Regions from separate parts of the Homo sapiens genome. Here all the other regions are linked to region 6. Evidence: promoter capture Hi-C in 16 types of primary human blood cells and fetal thymus (Javierre and others, 2016). All regions are on one chromosome and are shown on one strand. The core of a region is centred on a gene start or on the middle of the fragment in contact, and the rest is flanking DNA. Distances in the headings are between cores, read along the strand shown.

Region 1 (3,559 bases), core at 219-2,718, 5.6 Mb before region 6:
TGGGAGGTAGCAGAAAAACAGGGGCAAGTGGAATCAAGGAAGCCAAATTAAAAGAGTTTAAGAGAAGACCAGTCAAGAACATTAAACATAGGCCAGGCAGCAGTGGCTCATGCCTGTAATCCCAATGCTTGGGCAGACCGAGGCAGGAGCACTTGAGACCAGGAGTTTGAGACCAGCATGGGCAGCATAGCGAGACTCTGTTTCTAAAAATAAAGAAATTAAGAACATTAAATACAGCAGAAAGGTCACATGAGATGAACTGAAAAATGACCATTGGATTTGGTATTTGTTACTTTACCATTGTGTTGCAATCGTGTGTGAAAAATGGTGATGCTTTGTCATGAATAGAGACTAACAAAATAATAAATGATTTGAAGGACATGCATCTTTTTTGTTTGTTTGTTTTGAGTCAGGGTCTCACTGTGTCACCCAGGCTGAAATGCAGTGGCGCAATCTCAGCTCACGGCAGCCTCGACCTCCCGGACTCGCCATCCTCCCACCTCAACCTCCTGAGTAGCTGGGACCACAGTCACGTGCCACCACACCCAGATAATTTTTGTACTTTTAGTAGAGATAGGGGATGGGGGTGGGAGGTTCACCATGTTGGCCAGGCTGGTGTGGAACTCCCGGCCTCAAGTGATCCGCCCACCCTGGTTTCCCAAAGTGCTGGGATTACAGGCGTCAGCCACCGCCCAGCCCACTCTTTTAATACTAAACATATTATTTTCCCTGAATTAGATGAAATGTTCAATTTAATCTATTTTATCCCACCTTAGCAGGATTTGGAGAATTAAATTCAGCAGCCAAAGATCAGCTCACAACTTCTATCAGCAAACTCACGCACAAACTGTCATTTGTCAGACACTGTGAGGGACGTTATATGGGATACTTCAGCCTTTCTCAGAACTGAGCCATCCACAGTCAAGGTCTTGCAATAGAACCAATTTGAAAAGTCAAGGCTTCTAATCACCCAGACTCACCAAATTCCCAGGGCACTCAGATCTCACGCCCCAACCAAATCACAACTTCACTGTGGTAACCACCACCCACGTGCCCCCGAGCCTCCATGAACTGCCGGCCTCTAGCCTCAAGGAGACTCCTCCACCCAATCACTCCTTGCCTTGAGCTGGCCGGGAGTTTGGCGCGGGGCAGGGAAGGCTGCTGCTGCTGCTGCTCCGGTCGCCCGCAGCTCCTGACGTGCCAGGACAGGTGGATGCAGAGACCACCTGGACCGAAGGGCGGCTCTGTGGAGTCTCCTGGAGTCCGAAATTGTAGCGGGGACCCTGAGGTGAGCGGGTTTCTCCCGACGACGGGGAAACCGCCGGGGCAGAAGGCGAGGTTGATGAGATCTCAGGCCTCAGCATCCTCCCAAACCTTCCCTGACCCGAGAAGTATGAGGTTTCTGAGCGACCCCTCCAGTAGCCCAACTACAGAAGCTGCGCCGCTGAAACGGGCGGGAGAACTGCGCGCCGACGCACTAAGCTGCACTGCGCAGGCGCAGGCAGGCTCAGCTTTCCACATGGATTCACGTACTTCAGGTCTATGACCCTGCTTCCAGCCATTCCCAAACCCATCACTTTCCACATGAACCTCACTGGAACATCCTCAGCCTGCAGGTATCAGACTGACCAGAACTCTGCAAGGCCCATCAATGACCACCCGATTTGTTAGCCCCATTATTCTCACAGCACCCAATCTCCCTTATTGCAAATGTTACATGCATTTCCCACACGTCCAAGCACACTAGCTTATCTTTAAATGTAGAAACCACCCAACACAGTACACCCAGTGCCTTTGACACAATGAGAACGTGTAATGCTCACACAGCATAACCCACCTAAGGTTGATCTTGTGACCAAATATAGGAAAGATAGTTATATTATCAAAAGATAGTATGCACATGGCTGTGTGCATAGTAGAGTAGGAAACAGGGAAAGACTGACTGGGTAAGATCTCTCAGTTAACAATTCCCCATCTACCAATTTCTAGTACTGTGGTTTCTAACATATAAATCAGTTAATGGCACACTAGAAGTTCAAACTCCAGCTTTGCAGTGGTGACCTTTAGAAAATTCCTTAAATAAGGCCAATAGTACCAACTTACCAGAGATCCATGGATTAAACATGACGAAATTATCTGGATACTGCCATACAGAAGCTATTAGAAGACATTAATTTACACCACTACTGAAATCCTGCCACTGTTGAGTATCTCAATAAACCAGTTATGCACAGCGGTTTACCCACATGCAGTGACAACAGTCCTTAAGAACATCTCTGTTCTTGGAATGATTATTGCACAGGGCATTCCAAACATACTTGAGAAAAATCTCAATTTCCATCAAAAAACCTTATTTTCAGATCGGGCACGATGGCTCCTCCCTGTAATCCCAGTACTTTGGGAGACTGAGGCCAGAGGATTACTTCACCTCCGGAGACCAGCCTGGGGAAGACAGTGCCTGTCCCCAAAATTAAGAAATCAGCTGGGCATAGTGGGCATGGTGGCAGGTACCTGTAGACCCTGGTACTCAGGAGGCTGAGGTGGAAGGACTGCTTGAGCCCAGGAGTTTAAGGTTACAGTGAGCTGTGATTGCACTACTATGCCCCAGCCTGGGGAAGAAAGGAAGACCCTGTCTCTAAAAAATAAAATTTAAAAATAGAGAATACCTCACTTTCACCAAAACTGTAAACCCCTAGAGTGATTGTACTCATTTTAGGCCAGGCGTGGTGGCTCACGCCTGTAATCCCAGCACTTTGGGAGGCCGAGGTGGGTGGATCACAAGGTCAGGCTGGTCTCCAGCTCCTCAGCATGGTGAAACCCTGTCTGTACTAAAGTAACATAAAAATTAGCCGGGCATGGTGGTGTGCGGCTGTAGTCCCAGCTACTCGAGAGGCTGCGGCTGAATTGCTTAAACCCGGCAGACGGAGGTTGCAGTTAAGCTGAGATCGTGCTGCTGCGCTCCAGCCTGGGCAACAGAGATTCTGTCACAAAAAAATAAAAAAGAGTGATTGTACCCATTTTAGCTTTTTAAGAAAAAGACAGGTGCAAAAAAATACTGTGGTGACCATCAACTTACCCGTTAGTGTTTCCTTATTTGAAGACAACTCCTTCTTTGGGTAATTCTGATATATAAAATGCTAAAAAAAAAAAAAAAAAAAAAAAAAAAAAGGACAGTCCGAATCACAACCCCATTTTAAGATGGTAGATTGCCATTTAACCTAAGTCTGTGACCAATTCAGAATAACCATATTCAAACCTATCAATCATTTCCAAATTTCAACAGCCATTTATTTTGTGCATCATTTAATTCATGTATGGGTTCTATCCACTTTCATCAGTTAACATTCTTGTTGACAAACCAATTTACATCAACTTGCTATAGAACAGATGAAAGGTATACATGGGGGAAAAATCAAGTAGAAACCTAGAGTTATTTTATGTTAGCTCAGTTATTGAACATAACAGACACAGAAGTATACACAAAGAACTGTAGTCAGAATAACAGGACTTCAGAATAAAAAGCAGAAAATAAAATACCGGTCTTTATTTTACAATATGT
Region 2 (3,283 bases), core at 168-2,667, 6.7 Mb after region 6:
AATATTACTCTACCCAGCTTTGACTTCTAAAAATAGATCTCCAACCTAATAAATTGAATATTTCAAGTTCAATAATAAGATAACACAGGTAGGGTCCCCTTCAGGACTCATTGCATTCCTACTCAGGAGGCCTAAATCACTTGCACCTTTTCGAATTATATAGATCATTTACACTTGGGAAAGAAAGATAATAATTGCTTATCATGGATGAAGTACCCTATTTATAATACGCAGGCCGCCTGCCTGACACTTTCATATTACACCAGATTTAGAAGGACCCCACAGGGATGTGGTGTCACAGTCTGGTTACTGCAAATTGGTAATACTATAATTAAGCATCAGAGTTCTAAACACATATGTGTGCATGCATCTCCTCACAAATGTGAAAGAAAACTGTTTCAAGAAGTAAGGGAGAATGAATTTCACTTTGCAATAAGCAATTTTAAAATATAAGTATATTTTAGGATCGTCCTCAAATATTCTTTCCAAACAAGGCAACTCCCTCACATGGAAATCCCAAGGCAGAAATGTGCCAGAATTTTATTCTTTTCCTTTCTGTGACGAGAAACCAAACTAAAGCTTAAATAAACATATAATTGCACCCCCCGCAGGCTTGGAAACCTCCCTTACTTAAAACTCCGGCCCGAGACTGAGACAGGGGCCTAGAGAGTACATTGCAGCAAACGGCTCCATAAATAACCAGCCACACAATAGCAAGAAAAATAAACTGTTAACAAGCGCCTAAGGCTTCTACAGGGCCAAGTGAAAACAGAAAGCCGTCCAGTCACCGTCCCTACACAGTGAAATACCGTCACAGGTAATCTCGGGCACCATCTCTCTATTTTTGTATTCCTCTGGAAATAAAACCGCATTTACATGTACATTTTAGGTACATACATGGACCAAATGTTTATGACAGAGAAGTAGACAAAGCAGAGGAAGGAGAAGCAGCTGCACAGAGAGGGACAGAGGGAGCGAAGAGACAGAGACAGCGAGCTGTTTGCTACCTAATTCTAGCTCACAAACAAGGAAGCGCAGCCAATTCTCTTCGGCGATTCAGCGTTCCTCTCACCGCAGCTGGACAGATCTCGGCCTTTCTCTAATCACCATGGCAACTGCACCTCACCGCCACCGGAAATAAGATGCAGAGCCCTTCTCCAAACGATCCGGCTAGAAATCTAGGAAGCGCTGATCCGGAGCGCACAGAGACAGCTGTGTTGCTCCTCTATCGCGGGGGTGGTATGGCCAGAGTAGTGAGAGAAGGTGCTCTGTTACACCAGCAGGAAATAGGTGCTGTCCTGGGCCTAGAACTCCCCGCTCGCTCCTTTGCTCGCGCACACCCGGATCCTTCGTCGCGGGGAGGATGTTTCCGCCCGGCCGCGGTGGGCTTGACGCAACGTCCAGCGCGCGCTTTTCATGCCTTGGCGTTTCCTTTGGCGGATTTTCTGTTTTCGGAAGTTGCTGGGTTCGTTTTATTCAGCGGCAGTGGTGCTTTCCCGAATCTCAGAATGCCGTAGGTATCTCCTCCCCAGGTATTGCTGTTTTGGGGGCCCTCTGCAAGAAGAGAAGATATTATGTGGCCCAGTAGCCTTTCTCGTTTTCCTATTTTTTCGGAGTATGAACTTGTCTCCTCTGTCCACAGGCAATTCCCTTCGCTTGGTACCCTCAACTCTACGTCTCCTCCAGCGGTACTCATACGATAGTCCTCCTTCGCTTTCTGTTTCTACGATGCTTTTGACAGATTTCGTAAACTGTGGGCTGTATTTAGGTGATGTCTAACTTGAAATAACATAAATAAGGTTGACACACAGGATGGGACAGAGTAGATGAAAACACGCCTTCGTAGTTTGTCAGTCCCTTGCCTTCATTAATGTGGCGCGTTCGTGTAAACCCGTGGGAGAACTCATGGACTGAGTGGGTCTAGATACCTGGATTCCAGATAAGACTCTTTCACTGTTGGGCAAGTCACTTATCGACCCTGAGCTTCGTTTTTTTTTACTTACACAAATAAGTTTGTACTGCATGATCTCTAAATTCCCATCTATGACCAATAATCTGATTATTGAGAATGACCATAGTGGGAATAGGCATTGTGCTAGATAAGATTCATCTGTTTTTCATATCCTTCATCCATCCTATATTGAGATGCATAAAATAGTTGCTACCCTATAGAAACTTAAAAAAGCCATTAAAGGTTGGGGGAGTGGGGTGGATATCAAACACCTGTAATTTCTCCTTGGCCGTCCTTGTCCTCAGGTTGATTTAGGTACCCCCTCTAGTGTAACCTGTTCCTTAGTTTATTTCAGGATTAAGTAAAATGCAAAGTAACACAGCTGGGGAAATTTTTGTATCAAATAGGAATTGACATGAAAGGGGAAAGCTGTACAGAAATGATAACCTATATTTATTGAATCTTGAATTACAATGTGGGTGCTGTATTAATCAATTTATCTACGTTTTTTCATTGAATCCTAAAATACTTTAGGGGATGGGGGCTGCTATTATCTTTACAGATAAAGAAACCCATCACCTAATAGGGTGTTCAACACAGCTGCCAATAAATGCATGTTTTACTGATGCCCTTAAAAGTTATGGATTATTGAGGAGGTTTTCCTTTCCCCAGAATTAAGCAAAGAGACTTGTTTCCCTACTCTTGCATTAGAAAAATCATCCAGTTCTCAAATAAACAAAGCTGCAAAGATAATGTCACACAATCACACACACAAAATCCCTAAGAATACAGTGAAAACAGAGGTGTATTTGCCAAACAAGTGGTAATACCTCCTGAACTGTGTGTATCTGTGTATAGGAGTGGGGAACCAAAAAACTATGAAAAGTGGAACTTTTTTTTTCTTTTTTTGAGGCAGAGTCTGGCTCTGTTGCCCAGGCTGGAGTGCAGTGCTGTGATCACAGCTCACTGCAGCCTCTACCTCCTGGGCTCCCACATGCCACCATGCCTAATTTTTTTATTTTGTAAAGACAGTGTCTCCCTGTGTTGCCCAGCCTGGTCTTGAAGTCCTGGGCTTAAGTGATCCTTCCACCTCAGCCTCCCAATGTGCTGGGACTATAGGAGTTAGCCACTGTGTCAGGCCTAAAAGTGGACCTTTTTGACAACTGTCTTCCTAACATATGCACACAAGATGTTATATTAGGCTTTTAGATAAGTATATTCTGGTAATAAATACACAACCTTAAAGTTGAGGTTAACATCTCACATATATAGCTAATATATATGTGAAACTAGCAATTACTTTGCTAATTTTCTAAGTTTTAGCAAAGTGAT
Region 3 (3,563 bases), core at 1-2,500, 6.6 Mb after region 6:
CCCACATTTCCATATATCAGATTTACTGAAAAACTTTTTTTTTTTAATTTCCCCTATCCGAGTGGACCCGCCCAATCAAGTCAGTTAACTTTCCTTGGCCGGGGGCGGAACCAAGGTGTTGCGGTAATTTCCTGGCCTGCCACGACTGCTTGCTTGCGTAAGGGCGTCTTTGGGTATGTTGCCATTCTAATGAAAATTCAGCTCCAGCCCCGTCGGTGGAACAGATCCCGGGCACCACTGGGCAGAGACTAGATGTTTCAAACGCCTGCCCCCCAGCAAGCAGGCCGCGCAAAGGGCAGGAGTTCGGAACCAAGGCAAACTAGGGGGCGGGGAGAAAAGATTGGCACCCGCCTGCTGAGATCTGCCAACCTGACGCCCCAGGGGGATGGGTGCTCTCGCCACCCTTGCCCCACAGTGTCGGGCTCCGAGCCAGCGGGAAGCGCCAGTCCTAGCCGAGAATAGCAGAGGAGCGGGCGGGATGCGAGGGGGCTCTGGGCGAGGCGGCGGCAGTCTAACCTTTCCTGCTTAAGGCGACAGCACTCTGCGCCGTAATCGTATCTTCCAAGGCTGCAAGGTTAGGGCAAATGTCAGACGCCTCGGGAGGGGCGGGGGACGGGGAGAGGGAAGGCAGCGGCTAGAGACGGAGAGTCGGGCGTGACCTTGGGAGGCTCCGCGCCCGCACCTCCCGGCGCCCCGGGAGTCAGGCGAGCAGGTCTGCCGGGTCCCGTGGCCACTTTCCCCAGCCCGGCGACCTCCGTCGGGCCTCCAGGCCAGAAGAGCGAGCGCGAAGGAGAGGGAGGAGCGGGAGGTGGAAACCGAGGCGGCAGCGCGCGGAAGCGGCCGGCCCCGAGCGAGGGAGGGCGCCGCGGGCCGCACGTCGCACACGCGCCAGGGTGCACAGCGGCGCGGGGCCGCGCATCCCTTACCCCGTTGGCGGCAGCGATGCGAGCGATGAGCTGGATGGCCTCCTTCATGTAGAACCGGCCGTCCCCGCCCACCACCAGCGTGGCCTCCTGCCGCTGCGCCGGCTCCACGGTGGAGATGATACTCTGGATGAAGTTCTCCGCGTAGTTGGCGCTGCTCTGGAACACCTTCACCCGCTTCCGCAGCCCGCTCGTGCCCGGCTTCTGGTCCTGGTACGCCTGGGTCTTAACTGTCACGATCTTCACCATGGTGGCGACTTGCTGCCGGGGGTCAGAGCGGCGGACTTGGCTGGCGGAGGGGCGGCCGGCTGAGGCTGCAGCTGCTCTGGGGTGAGGGCACGGCGGGTGGGGGCTACGCCGCACTCTAGGCCGGCGTTTGGCCCTCCTCCTTAAAGGGACAGGGGACAGGGCCCTCCCTCCGCGCCAGCCCACCTCCTGGCAGGTCCGGCGGGAGGGGAAAGGGGAGCGCCGGTCTCTAGGCCTCCTGTGAAATGGGTGGAGCCTTACTGATTTACTCTCCCCTTCGGAATCCTATCCACTGTAAAAAGAGGCCCGCAACTCCTCCTCTAAGTGTTGGGGCAGAGGTTGGGGTAGGAACCCGGTCATAGGGCAAGGACGTGAGGCAGGGTGGAAAAAAGTACAGGGTAGAATGATTTCCAGTGGTTTGGCGAATGCATCGTGTGTAAATAGCTTTCTGGAAACCTGTTGGGAGGGTCAGAAGTGCCAGCCCCAGCTCGATTTCATGAGTCGTAATTCTTTCTATTTCTCCCTAAATGTGAGGGCATTTGAGTTCCGTAAAGGAGTCGACTCCAAATGTTTCCTGCTGCACCACACACTTGACTACCATTGGTGACGGTGACTTAGCTATGACTTGCTGAGTGTAGCGTTTCTAAACCTTACTAAACTCTGGGTTTTATTTTTCCCCTTTTTATGCTTACAAAACTGAAATTCAAAGAATAAAATGCCTTGTCTCATTGCCACACAGCTAAGTCCATGCGGGAGGCCAATTCAGGTGGTCTGGCTCCAAAACCAGGGCTCTTCCCATGATTTGCCCGCTGTGACACCAGGTTGGCAACTAGGAAATGTACAAGCAGGACTTGACAAATGTAGGAGCAAATATATGGTAAGGATAAGTATGAACACCATCAAAATTAGCCAGTTACTCATGTAATAGAAATAAAGTGAGGAGATCAACAAACAAGGACTGACATGGCTGGAAAAGTTTCACGGGGGATAGCAAGGTCAACCAAGGGGATTTGATTATTAAGTAGGAATCTTCAGTCTTTCTTGCTTTTCGGTTTAGTATCTCCCTTAATTTGATGAGAGTGATTGTCTCCTCTGTTCAAGAAACCTGTCATTTTGGTAAAGTGGCAAAAAACTTGGCTTTACAAGGTGTGTGCTCTTGGGAAAGTTAGTTAATGTCCGTGGGCATCAATTTCCTTACTGTAAAATAAACATATCACCTACTTTGGAATATTTTTGCAAGATTTAATGGGGTTTTGTATGTCAGAAATTCTCAGTCATGGATACACAGTAGAATCCTACTGTGACCCATGCTCACAGTAGAATTACTTGAGGTGGTTTCTAAATGACCCAGTCCAAACAAATTCAATCATAATCAGCTGTTAGAAGTAAATCATCTAGCCTGGTGCCTGAAACATAGAGGCCTTCAAAAATATTAGCTCCCCTTCCCCAATTCCAAAACCAGAGCATATCATTCACCTGTGAATTATATTCTTTTGGTAGTTAATTGGTATGTCTTGATCAAGCAGGGAGGCGAACAGACCCATAAGAGTGCAGACTCTCACAAACCAAGTGTTGATATACATGCTCATATAGTACATGCTATGTAGATACAGTGTGTTGATGTAGTCACTATAGATGAGTTTCGGTGGCAAATATTATGTGAAAACGGAACCCTGGACTGCTAGTAATGAGTTCTAATATTTGCACAGGAGTTTACAGAGCAGTGTAATCTTGTGAATTAAATAATATAATCAAGCCCATTTTATAGACGAGAGAATTGAGGATTGGATGGTGAATGTAATCAAGGTTATCTAACTCCACAAAATGAAAATATAGCATAGATTCACTGAGCCTTCAAAATACCTACCTTAGAGTTGTATGGTTTAGATAGAGAATATACAGCTCCTACCACAGTGCTAATAAGTAAGTCATCAATAAATGATAACTTGTAAAGTCACGGGCCCAAATTCAGATCTCATGCCCTTTCTATATTCTTCAGTATCTTTGGAAATATGATGGAGCTTTTCATTTAAGAGGAATTGATCTATACTTCTCTCACCCCAGAAGTTGTAACAATTAGCTTTAACTGCATAACACACCAGTCTAAATCTGAGTGGCTTAAGACAACCCCCATTCATGATTATAGTTCATGATTCTATGAGTTAACTGGCAGTTCTGCTGTTCTGGACAGGGTTACTGTGGCCCCTTATACAGACCTAACATGATCCCCATGTTCCTTGCCTCCTGATAATCATGCCTTTATGCAATCCCCTTGTATTACAGATTGAGTATCCCTTATCCGAAATGTTTGGTACCAGAAATGTTTCAGATTTTAGATTGTTCCGGATTTTGGAATGTTTGCATTACAATGGTTGTGCATCCCAAATCCAAAAA
Region 4 (3,312 bases), core at 161-2,660, 6.8 Mb after region 6:
AAAACTAATCTATGGTGTTAAAAATCAGGAAAGAGGTTACCTTTGGGGAGGAAAGAAGGGATGGTGGTTGGGAGGGGTGCCCAGAGAGGTGTTCTGAAATGCTGTGAATCTTCCTTCTTGATTTGAGTAGTGGTTAGGAAATGTGTTGACTTTAGGATAAATTAACAAGTTACAACTTATAATTTGCGTACAGTATTTTTCTATATGGTATATTCCAATTTAAAAAGCATAAAAGGGGCTGGGCGCAGTGGTTCACCCCTGTAATCCCAGCACTTTGGGAGGCCGAGGCAGGTGGATCACCTGAGGTCAGGAGTTCGAGACCAGCCTGGTCAACATGGTGAAACCCCATCTCTACTAAAAATACAAAAATTAGCTGGGCGTGGTGGTGCGTTCCTGTAATCCCAGCTACTCGTGAGGCTGAGGCAGGAAAATCGCTCGAACCCGGGAGGCAGAGGTTGCAGTGAGCCAAGATCGTGCCACTGCACTCCAGCCTGGGCGACAGAGCAAGACTCTGTCTCAATTAAAAAAAAAAAAAGTGTAAAAGGAAATTACTTGGATGTGTTGACTAAAGGCTCCCTGTGAGCAGGGATCCTCCTGTCTTAGTCGTTGCTCTCTGTTCCCCACTTGTAGAACAGTGTTAGCAGAAGGCAGGTACCCAAGAAGTATTTGCTGAATGGAGCTGTGTGCGTCTGTGTGTACGAAGCGGGGAGGTACCCTAATTTTACTGAGCCCTGTGTGGTTAAAGATATTATGCGAGGCTTTTAACGACTCTCTTCTGCTTAAACCAGAAAAAGGGTTATTTGCGACTTTTTCCACCTGTAAATCAGAAAACAGTAATTTTCTAACCCATCCACTGGCCACGAAGTTGCTAGGCAGGCAGTAGATGCGCTTTTCGTCCTCCTTTGCCCTGACGGTGCATCTCGACAAATGCCAAGCCCGCCGTCCCCATCCCAGAACCGACTTTGCTCCTTTTAGTCTGAAAGGTCCTTCCACCGCAGTGGACACAACACCGGGGAGTGCAGCTATCCCGGGCGTGTATATGGGGCGAAAGGGATCCCTTCTCGCGTTTCTCCGCCCCTCCTCTTGAGGGCCAGGCCCTCAGAACCGCAAGGACAAGGGTGCCAGGACCGCCCCAGCCTGCAAGTGCCACCACTATCACCGCGTCCCCTCACCCGACCCACAAGCGACCCTGCAGGAAGGGCTGGGGAGGCCTCGCGTCGCGTCCCTGGGAGTGGAGCGGAGCTGGGAGACGGGTCGCCAGCTCTGCGCCGGCTCGTGGCGCGTCCGAGCCCCCGGCACCTCCCCACACTGGCCTGGGGTCCGGAACCTCCGGGATCCCATGCTCTTACCCCGCCGCCCGCCGGCCGCTGGGATTCGCGCCTGCCGTGGGTCCCAGGAAGGCGCATGCGCGCTCGCCCCCGCGGCGGACTGCCCCTCCGGCCTTCCGCCTCCGTGTGCCCGCGCACCACCCGCGCGCCCGGTGCGGGAGCGAGCCCGTCGAGCGTGAGGGGAGGGGCGGGCAACCTGGCCTGGACAGGAGGCGGCCGGCTTAGGAGGCGGGGCAAGAGCCGATGGAACCCGAGAGGTCCCCAGCCCCGGGTTAGGCTAGGGGCAGGTGGAAAGCCCCTTGCTCTTCTTTCCTGGGATCGTGGCCAAGGCCGGAGCGGCTGCTTAGCCAACGGATTCCTGTCAGGGGCGGGCCCTGGCTTGCTGCACTGAGCAGAGAGCCTTGGCCGGTCCTCACCACCTCTGGGCCTGTGCCCTCGAGGAGCCAGAAAGCCAACCTGCTTCACTTTCTTCTAGCCACATGCCTGCGAAGAAGAAGACTGGGCAGCCCCCTAAAGTAAGAAACATTGAACATCCAACCATTTGCGAGAGCCTGTGCGTTGTGCAAAAGGACAGCCCTGCCCTCGAGTAGCCACTACACGTGCCCCAGCGGGCAGCTTGAATCACCTGGTCCCAAACTTGCCAAAAATACCTATCTAGTAAGTTAGTAAGACCTGCACACTTTTCCTTTTGCATTGATCCCTTCCTTTCCAGTTCCACTATTTCCATCTCAGTCTAGGCTTCTGTCCAATCACGCATGGACGGCTGTGATGATTTTTACTTGCCTTCCTTTGTTCAGAGAGTGCCCTCATTCCCCACTTCTGAATCTTGCCATTCTACGTAAGCCAACCCCTATAATTTGTAAGTGTTAGCAAATATTTGGCTAGGACTATGGCTTTCTACTGAGTCTGAATAACTTCTCTCTGGGCCTCAGTTTCTTCAACTGTGAAAGAAATCAGTAGGGCTAGGTGAACTTCCAGGTCTAAAATATGATTATATCTAAAAGACCATCAGCACTGGGAATATGGAGAAATATGGCAGGTCCCTGCCCTCAAGGCATTTAATTCTCATTGGAAAGACATTTTTATGCATAAAAGGATAAAAAGCTATAGAAGGAAACACATACTAAATGTTACATTACTTACATATGCACTAAGCACTGTAGGAGTTAGGAGAAGAGGGTTCACTGTAAACTGCAAACCATCAGGAAATGCTTTTCCTGGAGGAGTCAGCTGAGCTTTGAAGGAAAGCCTGGCTGGATAAGCCCAGAGAATGAGAGTAAGAATCTAGACAAAGGAAATGGTTCAAGCCAAATATTGTGGCAGCTGAAAAGTGTAGAACATTTCCTCTAGTTTAGGTGGTGGGTGATGAAGCTGGAAAGGACTGGTAATTGTAGAGAGCCTTGAATACCAGGCTATGGTGTCTGGAATGTATCCAGTGATCAGTAAGGGGCTATTAAATGACTTTTAGCAGGGAGTCAAGTATACAGTACAGTTACAGTGTTAGAGAAAACTTAAAGTGGTGAAAATGGATCAGATGAATCAGAGGGAGACTATAGCAGTCCACGCATGATTAGACAAGGGCTTGGACTGAGATGGCAATAGTGGAACTGCAAAGGGAGAGATCAATGCAAGAAGAAACATGTACAGGTCTTTTTTTTTTTTTTCTGAGACGCAGTTTCGCTCTTGTTCTCTTGTTGCCCAGGCTGGGGAGCAATGGCACGATCTCGGCTCACCACAACCTCCACCTCCCGGGTTCAAGCAATTCTCCTGCCTCAGCCTCCCGAGTAGCTGGGATTACAGGCATGCACCACCACACCTGGCTAATTTTGTATGTTTAGTAGACATAGGGTTTCTCTGTGTTGGTCAGGCTAGTCTCGAACTCCTGACCTCAGGTGATCTGCCTGCCTCGGCCTCCCAAAGTGCTGGGATTACAGGCGTGAGCTGCTGCACCTGGCCTCGTGTACAGGTCTTAATAGCATACTAG
Region 5 (3,555 bases), core at 129-2,628, 7.4 Mb before region 6:
CTTTTGCCATGTTGGCTAGGCTGGTCTTGAACTCCTGACCTAAAGTGATCCGTCCACCTCGGCCTCCCAAAGTGCTGGGATTACAGGTATAAGCCACTGCACCTAGCCTACTTAATACATTTATATAGTTTTTACTGTTTATGTCTCTTACAGTCCATTCTAAATAGTCGTCTTTGTAACTCAGTTCATCTTGTTGAGTAGGAGAGAAATGTTCTACTTTGATCATTGGGAGTACAGAGCAAAAAACAAGAGCAGAGGTTGGTTTGCTTGTTATTAAGAAAGTGTCATGTTTACAGGAGCAAATGTAAAAATCTGTTAGATTGGAGAAGAGGAACTTCCTTAAATGAGGGAGAAGTAGATTACAAGTCACTCAAGTAACCGTGAAAATATAAAGATGGGATTGGGTTTGCAATAGTGTGTGACAGAGGTGGTAATCATGGCCGTGCTTCCCTTTTACCTGCATTGAAGTAGTCTGCTACAATTCAGAATTACTGTTGTGTTAAAAAAAAAAAAAAAAAAAAGTCCAAAAGCATTAGTGGAAAATACTGCTAATAACAGCACTAATTTTCTATGAGTACTAAGAGATATTTTAAAAATGAAAAATATCAGTAGAAAAATATTCTGTATCAGTATTACTTACACTTAATTCATTTTAATTACCAAACCAACATTTTTTTTTTTTTTTTTTTTTGATAGGATGACGAAAGTATTCCTATCATGTATAGGAATTTACCTGAATATAAAGAACTATTACAGTTTAAAAAGTTAAAGAAGCAGAAACTTCAGCAAATGCAAGCTGAAAGTGGATTTGTGCAACATGTGGGCTTTAAGGTAAGTTCTATTTAATTTTAGGATTCATTTCATTTTATTTATTTATTTATTTAGAGACAGAGTCTCACTCTGTTGCCCAGGCTGGAGTGCAGTGGCGTGATCTCAGCTTACTGCAACCTCTGCCTCCCGGGTTCAAGCGATTCTCGTGTCTCAGCCACCCAAGTAGCTGGGATTACAGGTGTGTGCCACTATACCCAGCTAATTTTTGTATTTTTAATAGAGATGGGGGTTTCACCATGTTGGCCAGGCTGCAGTATTCATTTAATTTTAAAAGGGTGATAAGAGATACTTTAAAGTGGTTTCTGTAGTGTTAAACTCCAGAATTGCTAAGCATGTAGGAAAAAGTTATCTTTTATCCCATTCATTTATGCAAAGCAGTGGTGCCATCGTTCCTGATGTGAAGAGTTTATTATTTAGTAGAGTGAAGACAGACATACAGGTAGCTATCAATTGAGGTAAAATGTGAGGGGCTTTTGTTTAGCCGTTTCTCTTTTTGTTGCTGTTGTTCATGGGTCAGAAATGGGTTTTTTTCCCTTTCTGATTGAGAGGCTAATAGAAATGCATATACTCATTCTGCAGAATTTTGTAATACACATTATGTTCCAGTCACTTTGCTAAGTGCTAGAGATTCAGCAGTAAACAAGACAGACTCAGTTCTTGCCCTTACTCTGTTTTCATTCTCATAAGGAATTTAGAGAAGTTAAACAAAATAGTTGAGCGTGGCTAGAGTACATACTAGAGAGTAGTTAGAGGCTGCTTGCACCGCCTTATAAATTTTGCCAAGGAGCTCACACTATCCTGAGAGGTTGGTGGGGGGAACCATTGAATGATTTTAAGCAGAAAGTAACATGACATTTACGTTTTGGAAAGAATCATTCTAGTTACTTAAACTATTGGGGGTGATGATCTTTAGGAAAGCAGTGGGTTTGGAACTGACCAGCTTTTCCCCTCATCATTTTGGCCATAGTATGGAAACTTAATTAGAGGAAGGCAAGACTAGAGTCAAGGAAACTGGTTAGAGATTCTTTTGATAATTTAGACAAAAGAGGAGGGTGTCCTGAACTTGACTGGTGGCCATGGAAATAAAGATTGGCAAGTTTGAGAAGCCTTTAGGCATTAGAATTGACTTGGTTGGACTGGAGGAAGTAATAATGAGACCATAAACTTGGTGGTGTTGGTGGGTGCACATGAAAGTACTGATGTGTGCTGTGACTGGTAAACCAAATTAAAAACAAAGTTATACCTTTGATCCTCTAGAGTAGCCAGTAACCATACTATATTAAATGATTTTCCCTCTTGATCTTTCAGTGACCCTGTTTCTCCAATAGAGATTTTCCTAACTGGCAGCTCTGGCCTTTCAGAAAAACTTGCTTCACTTCTCCTAATTTTGCTGCAAAACCCAGCCATGGCTTGTTTGCCATTCTGTCAGCCACTATAGTTGACCAGATGATCAAAGAAACTAGAAATGATAGATCCTTTGATTTCCAAAAGTGCACAGAACACACTGAGGACTGTCACAATGCCACCACGCTGAGAAAGAGCTAGATCTGCCTTTTTGACATGATGGGCATTGGTTATTAGGAGTCTTTAGGCTTTGGGAGAGCGATTCAATAAGAGATAAAAGTTTAGACAGAATTTCATTGTTGCCTGGGTTTATGTTAGCCAAGAGAACCTGCTAAAACAATTCTGTATCAATTACCAACAGTGAAGCACTACAGGAGGCAGCTGTGGCATTGCTTCCTTAACCAGTATTTGGATAGTTTTAACTATGGTATTAACTCTCTGTTTCTCAACCATAGTCATCATACAGTGGTCTGAGGTACCTTTCAAGTAGATGATTACAAATAACAAAACACCCAAGTTGGAGATGATTTACTTTTAAAAATTTTTAAATAAATTTAAGCTGATTGAAGATTATCCCTTCCAATGTTCCTCTCACTCACCCATATCTTGATATTGAGTGGATGGAATTTTACCTAGTTTGCTAGAAATTGTCTCTAACACATAACCATTTGTGTGTTATATTACTGTCCTGTGCATGGAGAGAGAAGAGAAGATGTCTGTGTGCACATCATGTGTTTCCTTGTGGAAAATAAAAAAGATCGTGGAACAGTATAACTTAATACATTTTCTCTCTGAATCTGTTATAGTGTGATAACTGTGGCATAGAACCCATCCAGGGTGTTCGGTGGCATTGCCAGGATTGTCCTCCAGAAATGTCTTTGGATTTCTGTGATTCTTGTTCAGACTGGTAAGTGTTTTCTTCATTGTCAGTCTTCAACTTAGACAAGAAAAGAGCTTCTCAGCCATTAGTGAATTTGATTTCCAAACATAGAAAATATTAATACCCACACTTAGTGAATTAAATTTTGTTGTTCTAGGCAATTAATTTTTTTCTGTAATCATACCACATGTCAAGTAACTTTCCGTTGGAGATTTTGATAGATTAATGGATTTAAACAGGGAGAGCTGTGAGGAAGCTTTGTAATACACAGACTAAAATGCATCCACTACCATGTAATGATGTGTGTCTTTTTTTCTTTACAGTCTACATGAAACAGATATTCACAAGGAAGATCACCAATTAGAACCTATTTATAGGTCAGAGACATTCTTAGACAGAGACTACTGTGTGTCTCAGGGCACCAGTTACAATTACCTTGACCCAAACTACTTTCCAGCAAACAGATGACATGGAAGAGAACATCATTTACTAGTCCTCTT
Region 6 (3,330 bases), core at 155-2,654:
GGAGGCGGAGGTTGCAGTGAGCCGGGATCACGCCACTGCATTCCAGCCTAGGCGACAGACCAGACTTTGTCTCAAAAAAAAAAAAAAAAAAAAGACAAAAATCCACTCTTTGCTTTTTTAGTAGGGTAACAACTATTGGTAACTTTCTCTTGTTCGATATTAGTGTAAAGGACTCCACAGAAATAAGAACAAAAAGGGTAGAGTTAAAAACCGAATTTTACAGGTAGCAATAACCTGGACTCAGGTAAAAGTGCGTGATGAAGAATTGATCAAAGGGCCTTCATCCTAGCTTTCAACTATTCTACCAATCCTCAGTAGACTTGATGGGGGTTAGAATGGTATTCCCTGGCATATGCTTTTAAAACAAAATCATTTCAGGCAAAAGAAAAGTCTAGCACCCAGGATAGTACACATACTAGGCAGGATTAATCTTAATAATTACTTGTTGAATCAAGAAGTTGTACATTTCAGATGAAAATTTTAATTTCCTAGGAAACACCGACTTACATTGAACAAAATTTTCATTTGCTATTATTCTGGACTCACCGAGAGCTCAAGATTCTAGTTTTTATCTTCACTTATTTCAAAAACCTTATGCGGTAGGAATTATCCCCAAAGTAATGAAAAAAAGGAATGAGCTTTAAAAGCGGTTGAGTAAACTGCCTAAAGTTAACAGTTTCTAAAGTAAAGAAGCAGCTGAGATTTGAACTTGCTTTTTAGGGCTCAAAAATCCAAGCTGTCTGAGCTTCACTAAAGCATGTACCACTACTTGTCTCCCTAAACTGTCTGATACACAGAACATTTATTAAATTTTAAGGATTTTTGTTTTTGTCTTCTATGTTGCCAGTCCTTCCATTTCACATTACCTCCTTTGCTGGGTAAGCTATATACCCTCAATACAACGAGAATGGTGTCAGAGTACAAGCCTTAAGAACAGAAAATTTCTTTTACTCCGTACGCCAGAGGTCTGGCGCCACCACCACAAGCGACAAACACAGGCTGGGGTCCAGAAACGCTGCCGACCGCGCCCAGATCTCAAGTTTTAGTCAAGGCCCACGTTCAGACTAGGAGAGGGGAGAAGAGAGGGTTCTCTTTCCCCACACCCTCGCCACGGTGGAAGCACAGAGGAGAAGGTTGGAGTCGCAGTAACAGTGCAAACAATAAACCCGAAAGCCCCTCTTAAGCCCGTTAAACGCACTTACTTGATTGAAGTAATTCCAGGACGCTAGGCCGGCACCGGCAACGGAAAAGGCTTCTCTGTCCTCCAGCCCAGGCGCTGGTGCTGACGACATCTGGACTGCGCCGCAGAGAGTGAAGGCCCAGCGCGAGGCCGCGAGCCCAGCGCCCAGAGCGCGCGCTCACGAAAGGAGCGGGGCATCCCAACGGCGCCACCTTTAAGCGTCACGGGTGGGGCTGCAGCTTCTGGACCTAGGACTTTGAACATGTCGCGCCTGAAGCGGATAGCGGGGCAGGATCTCCGCGCTGGTTTCAAAGCAGGTGGAAGAGACTGCGGTACCTCGGTACCCCAAGGGCTGTTGAAGGCAGCGAGGAAGAGCGGCCAGTTAAACCTGTCGGGTAGAAACCTCAGTGAAGGTAAGACCCAGAGGTACGACCCTATTGTGTCTCCTGTCAGAAAGCCTTTGGCCCAGGCAACCTCCCTTTTCTCTGGGCTGGCTTTGGCCCCCTTTCTCAGACTGCTAGCCAGAATTTCTGTGCTCTAATCTAATCCCTGTGCTCATTTCGACCGGTTTGGTTAGCCCAGTTCAGTTCCTTCCCAGGTTCCCGCAATCTCTGTTAAAGGGACCCTGCTAAAAATACGGTCTAAATTTAAACGGGGCGCTTTCTGGGATTCCCACATTCTGTGGGATAAGCAACATAATATGTGACGAAACCAGCTATCAAATCACGGGCAAATCTTTTGTTTCTTTGGCCCTTATTTTCCTCCTCTTATTGTAATCTTCAAGGGCAATTACCAAAGCTAAAATTATATGTTTTATCGGCCCCTTTGTGAACCTGCACTGTTCCCTGCCGAGACGCTCTTCTGTATGCAGCTGTGCAGAGTTCTACTTACAAGGAATAATGAGTATATTTTCTAAGTTGAAGATCAGGATAGATGCCACACAGAGTGTTTGAATGTGGGGACATCCTGAGAAACCTGTTAAAGACCAAGAAGCACAAATCTGGGTACCATGAATGAATGGCCAGATGCTCTTCTGATTGTCGTGTGTGTGTGTGTGTGTGTGTGTGTGTAAGAGAGAGAGGGAGGGGAATGGAGAGATGGAGAAATAGAGCATTTTTCCTGTAATGTTTTTCTTCATTTATATTTAGGTTTTAAGACTGATTAAAACCTTCCATTTTCCTTCTAATGATTGCTTTCTTATTGTGACATGTATAAAGTAGATTAGGCAAGCAAATGCTTCTGAATGAATGAAAAGACACAGAATCCTTACTCCACCTAAAAGAGTTTTTGATCAATGGGAACATACTCATTTTCAAACTACAGTTGTGCATATATATATATCTACTTGGTTTCCCCAAAACCTGAAACATTTTTCTCTAAACTTGCATACCTATCATGCTAACATTCTGTTCTCTTACCTGTTTAATTTTTTAACAGCATTTATCACTATCAGAATTTATATCATTTATGTTTTTTGTTTTCTCTGCCCTCCAACCAAAAGGTTAATATCATGAAGTCAGTGAGCTTTGTTTTGTGCTTTGTTGTATTTCTATCACTGAAAATAGTGCTTGGTACATAGTAGAGTCTTATTAAATTTTGCGGAAGCAATAAGTAAGTGAATGAGTATTCTCAAATCATAAGTGGTGTGCTAGAATGTACTTATTGACTAGACTCAGGTGGTTTCGTCTGTTAAACTTTAAGAGAGCACATGGATTCTGACTCTTAGGTCCGTGATGATATGGATTAGAACTGCTTAGGTTATTGTTATATAACCAGAACCTAACACTTTACCTGGTACATAAAATGATTTTAAATGAGTGAATAAACAGCATTTCATAGGAGGGAAAGATATAAATGGCAGAAACTCATGGTATTTGTAGCTTATATATAAAAAAGGAATCCCTGTTACTATAATATAGAAAGTCTTTCTCTGTCTGGCTGTATGTAGCCCTCAGTTTCATCACTTGTTAGTGAAACTTTGATAGGCAAACCACTATAATTCTGAACTGTTTGTAGTTCGTTACGGGGTCGTGCTTCTTATCTTCCTATCTTTGCTCACATAACATTGAGATGGTTAATCACTCTGTGCCCTAATTTCTCATTTATTATGCAGGAGTCATAACAGGACCTATTAAGGTCTAAATGAGATA
Region 7 (3,410 bases), core at 1-2,500, 5.5 Mb before region 6:
CACTAATTAAACAAGCATCAAAAGTTCCAAGTCCAAGACCTCCTACAGTATCAAAATGTTTCAACACATTGTAATATGTAGTACATCACAATAGAAATAAAGGTAAACTATTTTAATTGCTTTCAATATGACCAAAATTTGTTTTAAAAGGAAATTTGCAATATAATATCTACATGTGTTCTGGCTGGCACAATAAGAAATTATACTTTCTTAAAGCTCTAAAATTTTCAAAAAATTATTTTACTATTTGTAATTTGAACCTGTATTCCTGTTCTAACTTGATTTTGTTAAAACTCAATTCAACTCTAAAACTGGGTCTGAGGAAAAGAATCATGGTTCACAAAAAAGACTCAATAAAATGTAATATAGAAGATAGGAATAAAACACAACAAATTGACCAACTCTAGAAACGGAAGTTACCAAGGTTTAGGTGCAAGTTAAGGTTGGAACCAGTTAGAAGAAGGAAAAACGCATCTAGGTATAGAGTGCAAGCTTCCAAAAGTGGGCAAACACTGTAGTCTGAGCAGGAAGACAAAGGTAGAAAGTCATTTAATGGCAAGAAATATTTGAAAAAAATGACTGAGTAGAGTTCCACAATTTTTCTTACTCATATGCATTCCAGTATTAAAAATATAAAGAAAGCTTACCACAGTTCTCTGGAATGTGTGTGTTCATTAAACCAAGTTCCCAGGCTCTTCTAATTAGGGGGACTGGATACTAGAAGAAAAAGAACTGAGTTAAAATATATTTTGAAATCCAGATAGTTTGATTACATAATCTTGTAAAAAATGTAAAAGATTTTTCCCTCTTTAAAATGTATATACCTACTTCACCAGTTTTATCATATTCTGCAGCCACTGGGATGATTTCCTCTCTGGCAAATTTACGAGCAGTAGCTTGAAATTCTTTCTGCTGTTCGGTGAACTCTAAGGGAAAATTATTTAGAAAAGTTAAAACTGGATAACAAGGAAAAATGTCCTATGAAGTCAGTATGTAGAAATGTGTATTTATTGTGGGGACTTAAATCCTTGATTATCAGAAACTCAGACTACAGTGCATTTTTTGACTAATCAAGAGTTCACTACACAATATAAATAAACCTATGTCAATACAAATGCTAAAGGAAATAGGTAAGATTTTTAACTTTTACAAATGAGTAATAGATATTAACCTGTAGAGCTCAAGTGAGTTTTTCTTTTCCAATTGGTGATATAAAAAACGTTTAACTTATTATTAGTTCCTAAGCCAATTTATCAAATGTTTGCTAACACTGAAGTGAAACTAATATACAAGACATCTCCCTGACGACAAGAATCAATCTAACGAAATAGATGAAACACACTCAGTGACATAAAGCAATAAAACTTATTTCAAAGTGTCATATAAGAATATCAATATCATAATTTTGCTTTTTTTTTTTGAGACAGTCTCATTTTGTCACTCAGGCTGGAGTGCAGTGGTGCAATTACGACTCACTGTAGCCTCGACCTCCTGGCCTTAAATGATCTTCCCACCACAGCTTCTCAACTAGCTGGGATCACAGGCACATGCCACCATATCTGGCTAATTTTTGTAATTTTTGTAGATACAGGGTTTTGCCATGTTGCCCAAATGGGTCTAGAACTCCTGGGCTCAAATGATTCTCCCATCTTGGCCTCCCAAAGTGCTGGGAGCCACCTCACCCTATCTATTTCATTTTTTTTGTTTTCACAGAGACAGGGTCTCACTATGATGCCAGGCTGGTCTTGAACTCGTGGCCTCAAGCAATCCTCCTGCCGTGGTCTCCTAAAGTGCTGGGATTACAAGCATGAGACACCATGCCTAGGCTTACAGCTCCTTTAAACTCAGACAAGCTTATAAATTAGCACAAAGCAACTGGTAAAAGTGGTAGAAAGGTTTTTCAAAAGATAATAACATAAAATCCTGCTGCAATGCTAATAAATGGTGTCCAACAATTTGTTTACATAAAATAAGGGATTGTTTTAAAATTAATGAAATTAGTATGGTGGCTTGATTGAGGAGAGGAGTCAATTGCTAACTGCATCTTTTCAAATCCATGGTATCCTTGTGTTTTAATGTGGTTGCATCTAACGTCAAAGATTAGGTAAAATTTAAGAGATAATAGGGTATTTCAAGCAAGAAAAATGAGAGCAAATGCACAGAGGAATGTTTAAGACTACAGTAATCATTTGTATGGGGATGTGAGAAACAATACATAAAAGCTGAATTCTGGTGCTGAATTGAAGAGCATAAGATCAAATCTCTTTTTTTTTTTTTTTTTTTTTTTTTTTGAGACGGAGTCTCGCTCTGTCGCCCAGACTGGAGTGCAGTGGCGCAATCTAGGCTCACTGCAAGCTCCGCCTCCCGGGTTCACGCCATTCTCCTGTCTCAGCCTCCTGAGCAGCTGGGACTACAGGTGCCTGCCACCGCGCCCGGCTAATTTTTTTTTTTGTATTTTTAGTAGAGACGGGGTTTCACCAGGATCTCGATCTTCTGACCTCGTGATCCGCCCACCTCGGCCTCCCAAAGTGCTGGGATTACAGGCCCGAGCCACTGCGCCCAGCCAAATCTCTCTTTTTATTGATAAACTAATGCAGAGTAAGGAAATTCTAGTATCAGTCTCACAATGAATTAGCAGAAGTATACTTAAGAATTTCAGTCCAGTGTTCTCTCTATCACAGCTTTACTTCTAAGATTGGTGCCAGTTGATAGCAATCTTGCAGGTAGATAGAGGGTAGAGAAAGTCTGGGCACGGTAGCTCATGCCTATAATTCTAGAATTTTGGGAGGCTGAGGCAGGTGAACCATTTGAGGCCAGGAGTTTGGGGCCAGCCTGAGCAATATAGCAAGATCCTGTCTCAACAAAACATTTAAAAATTTAAAAAATCAGCTAGGTGTGGTTGACATGGACCTATTGTCCTAACTGCTCAGGAAGCTGAGGCGAGAGAATCCATGGAGCCCCAGAGGTCAAGGTTGCATCCAGCTTGGGTGACAGAGTGAAACCCTGTCTCTTAAAAAAAAAAAAAAGGAAAAATGACAAGTATGTATTATGTATTATTTATTGAGAAACTACTTTGATCCAGTCACTAAGTGCTAGGGGCTTTAAATACAGCATATAATTTAATCTTCATAGAAATTCTGTGTTATAGATATTATTTCCACTTTACAGATAAAGAACCAGATGCAACTGGTTCAAGGAATAGACCCGTATTGAACTTCACAATCTCCCTCCCAAACAATTATATCTAACTCATCCTCTGTCACTCAGTGAACCACCATAGATTTCTCCTGCAAGTCTCTTACTACTGAGAGAGAAATTTAAAGTGACAAGCAATCATACCAAATTAATGCTAATTATCTCAGTATGATCCACTACCCTGGCTGGGCATGCTGGCTAATGCCCATAATCCC

Evidence for each region. The method cuts DNA at HindIII sites, captures the fragments that hold promoters and counts their contacts. A CHiCAGO score of 5 or more calls a contact.
Region 1: a contact is called between the fragment with the promoter of MSH4 here and the fragment with the promoter of LRRC40 in region 6, in 8 of 17 cell types (naive CD8 T cells, non-activated CD4 T cells, total CD4 T cells and 5 more). The highest score is 25.3, in naive CD8 T cells.
Region 2: a contact is called between the fragment with the promoter of ITGB3BP here and the fragment with the promoter of LRRC40 in region 6, in 4 of 17 cell types (naive CD8 T cells, non-activated CD4 T cells, activated CD4 T cells and 1 more). The highest score is 10.0, in naive CD8 T cells.
Region 3: a contact is called between the fragment with the promoter of PGM1 here and the fragment with the promoter of LRRC40 in region 6, in 2 of 17 cell types (total CD4 T cells and activated CD4 T cells). The highest score is 9.5, in total CD4 T cells.
Region 4: a contact is called between the fragment with the promoter of ALG6 here and the fragment with the promoter of LRRC40 in region 6, in 6 of 17 cell types (non-activated CD4 T cells, activated CD4 T cells, total CD4 T cells and 3 more). The highest score is 22.2, in non-activated CD4 T cells.
Region 5: a contact is called between a fragment that was not itself captured here and the fragment with the promoter of LRRC40 in region 6, in 1 of 17 cell types (activated CD4 T cells). The highest score is 5.5, in activated CD4 T cells.
Region 7: a fragment that was not itself captured here is called in contact with the fragment with the promoter of LRRC40 in region 6 in 1 of 17 cell types (naive CD8 T cells); the score reaches 5.1 in naive CD8 T cells.

The regions. Positions count from the first base shown.
Region 1 is chr1:75,794,791-75,798,349 of GRCh38, reverse strand. MSH4 (mutS homolog 4) reads right to left here and starts at 1,468. Exons shown (of 20, transcript NM_002440.4): 1 at 1,121-1,468. The coding sequence starts at 1,364. RABGGTB (Rab geranylgeranyltransferase subunit beta) reads right to left here. Exons shown (of 9, transcript NM_004582.4): 9 at 3,264-3,559. The HindIII fragment of the contact is 6,934 bases long and covers 1-3,559 here.
Region 2 is chr1:63,521,359-63,524,641 of GRCh38, reverse strand. It overlaps ITGB3BP (integrin subunit beta 3 binding protein), which reads left to right and starts at 1,417. Exons shown (of 9, transcript NM_014288.5): 1 at 1,417-1,513. The coding sequence starts at 1,509. It overlaps EFCAB7 (EF-hand calcium binding domain 7), which reads right to left and starts at 1,117. Exons shown (of 14, transcript NM_032437.4): 1 at 1,008-1,117. RefSeq lists enhancers at 1,154-1,233, 1,395-2,018. The HindIII fragment of the contact is 3,975 bases long and covers 582-3,283 here.
Region 3 is chr1:63,591,098-63,594,660 of GRCh38, reverse strand. It overlaps PGM1 (phosphoglucomutase 1), which reads right to left and starts at 1,250. Exons shown (of 11, transcript NM_002633.3): 1 at 927-1,250. The coding sequence starts at 1,172. RefSeq lists enhancers at 214-273, 974-1,263 and a silencer at 634-933. The HindIII fragment of the contact is 4,618 bases long and covers 1-3,563 here.
Region 4 is chr1:63,365,725-63,369,036 of GRCh38, reverse strand. ALG6 (ALG6 alpha-1,3-glucosyltransferase) reads right to left here and starts at 1,410. Exons shown (of 15, transcript NM_013339.4): 1 at 1,350-1,410. RefSeq lists enhancers at 841-950, 1,811-1,950 and a silencer at 1,131-1,610. The HindIII fragment of the contact is 8,093 bases long and covers 1-3,312 here.
Region 5 is chr1:77,565,608-77,569,162 of GRCh38, reverse strand. ZZZ3 (zinc finger ZZ-type containing 3) reads left to right here. Exons shown (of 15, transcript NM_015534.6): 13 at 697-831; 14 at 2,982-3,082; 15 at 3,379-3,555. The coding sequence ends at 3,523. Among named protein-coding and RNA genes, the nearest start is that of ZZZ3, 120 kb to the left of the region's middle. The HindIII fragment of the contact is 3,871 bases long and covers 1-3,313 here.
Region 6 is chr1:70,203,653-70,206,982 of GRCh38, reverse strand. It overlaps LRRC40 (leucine rich repeat containing 40), which reads left to right and starts at 1,404. Exons shown (of 15, transcript NM_017768.5): 1 at 1,404-1,593. The coding sequence starts at 1,443. It also overlaps a transcript of SRSF11 not described here. RefSeq lists enhancers at 1,181-1,490, 1,751-1,810. The HindIII fragment of the contact is 8,465 bases long and covers 1-3,330 here.
Region 7 is chr1:75,730,160-75,733,569 of GRCh38, reverse strand. It overlaps ACADM (acyl-CoA dehydrogenase medium chain), which reads right to left. Exons shown (of 12, transcript NM_000016.6): 3 at 829-926; 4 at 648-717; 5 at 1-42. Among named protein-coding and RNA genes, the nearest start is that of ACADM, 7.2 kb to the right of the region's middle. The HindIII fragment of the contact is 1,211 bases long and covers 645-1,855 here.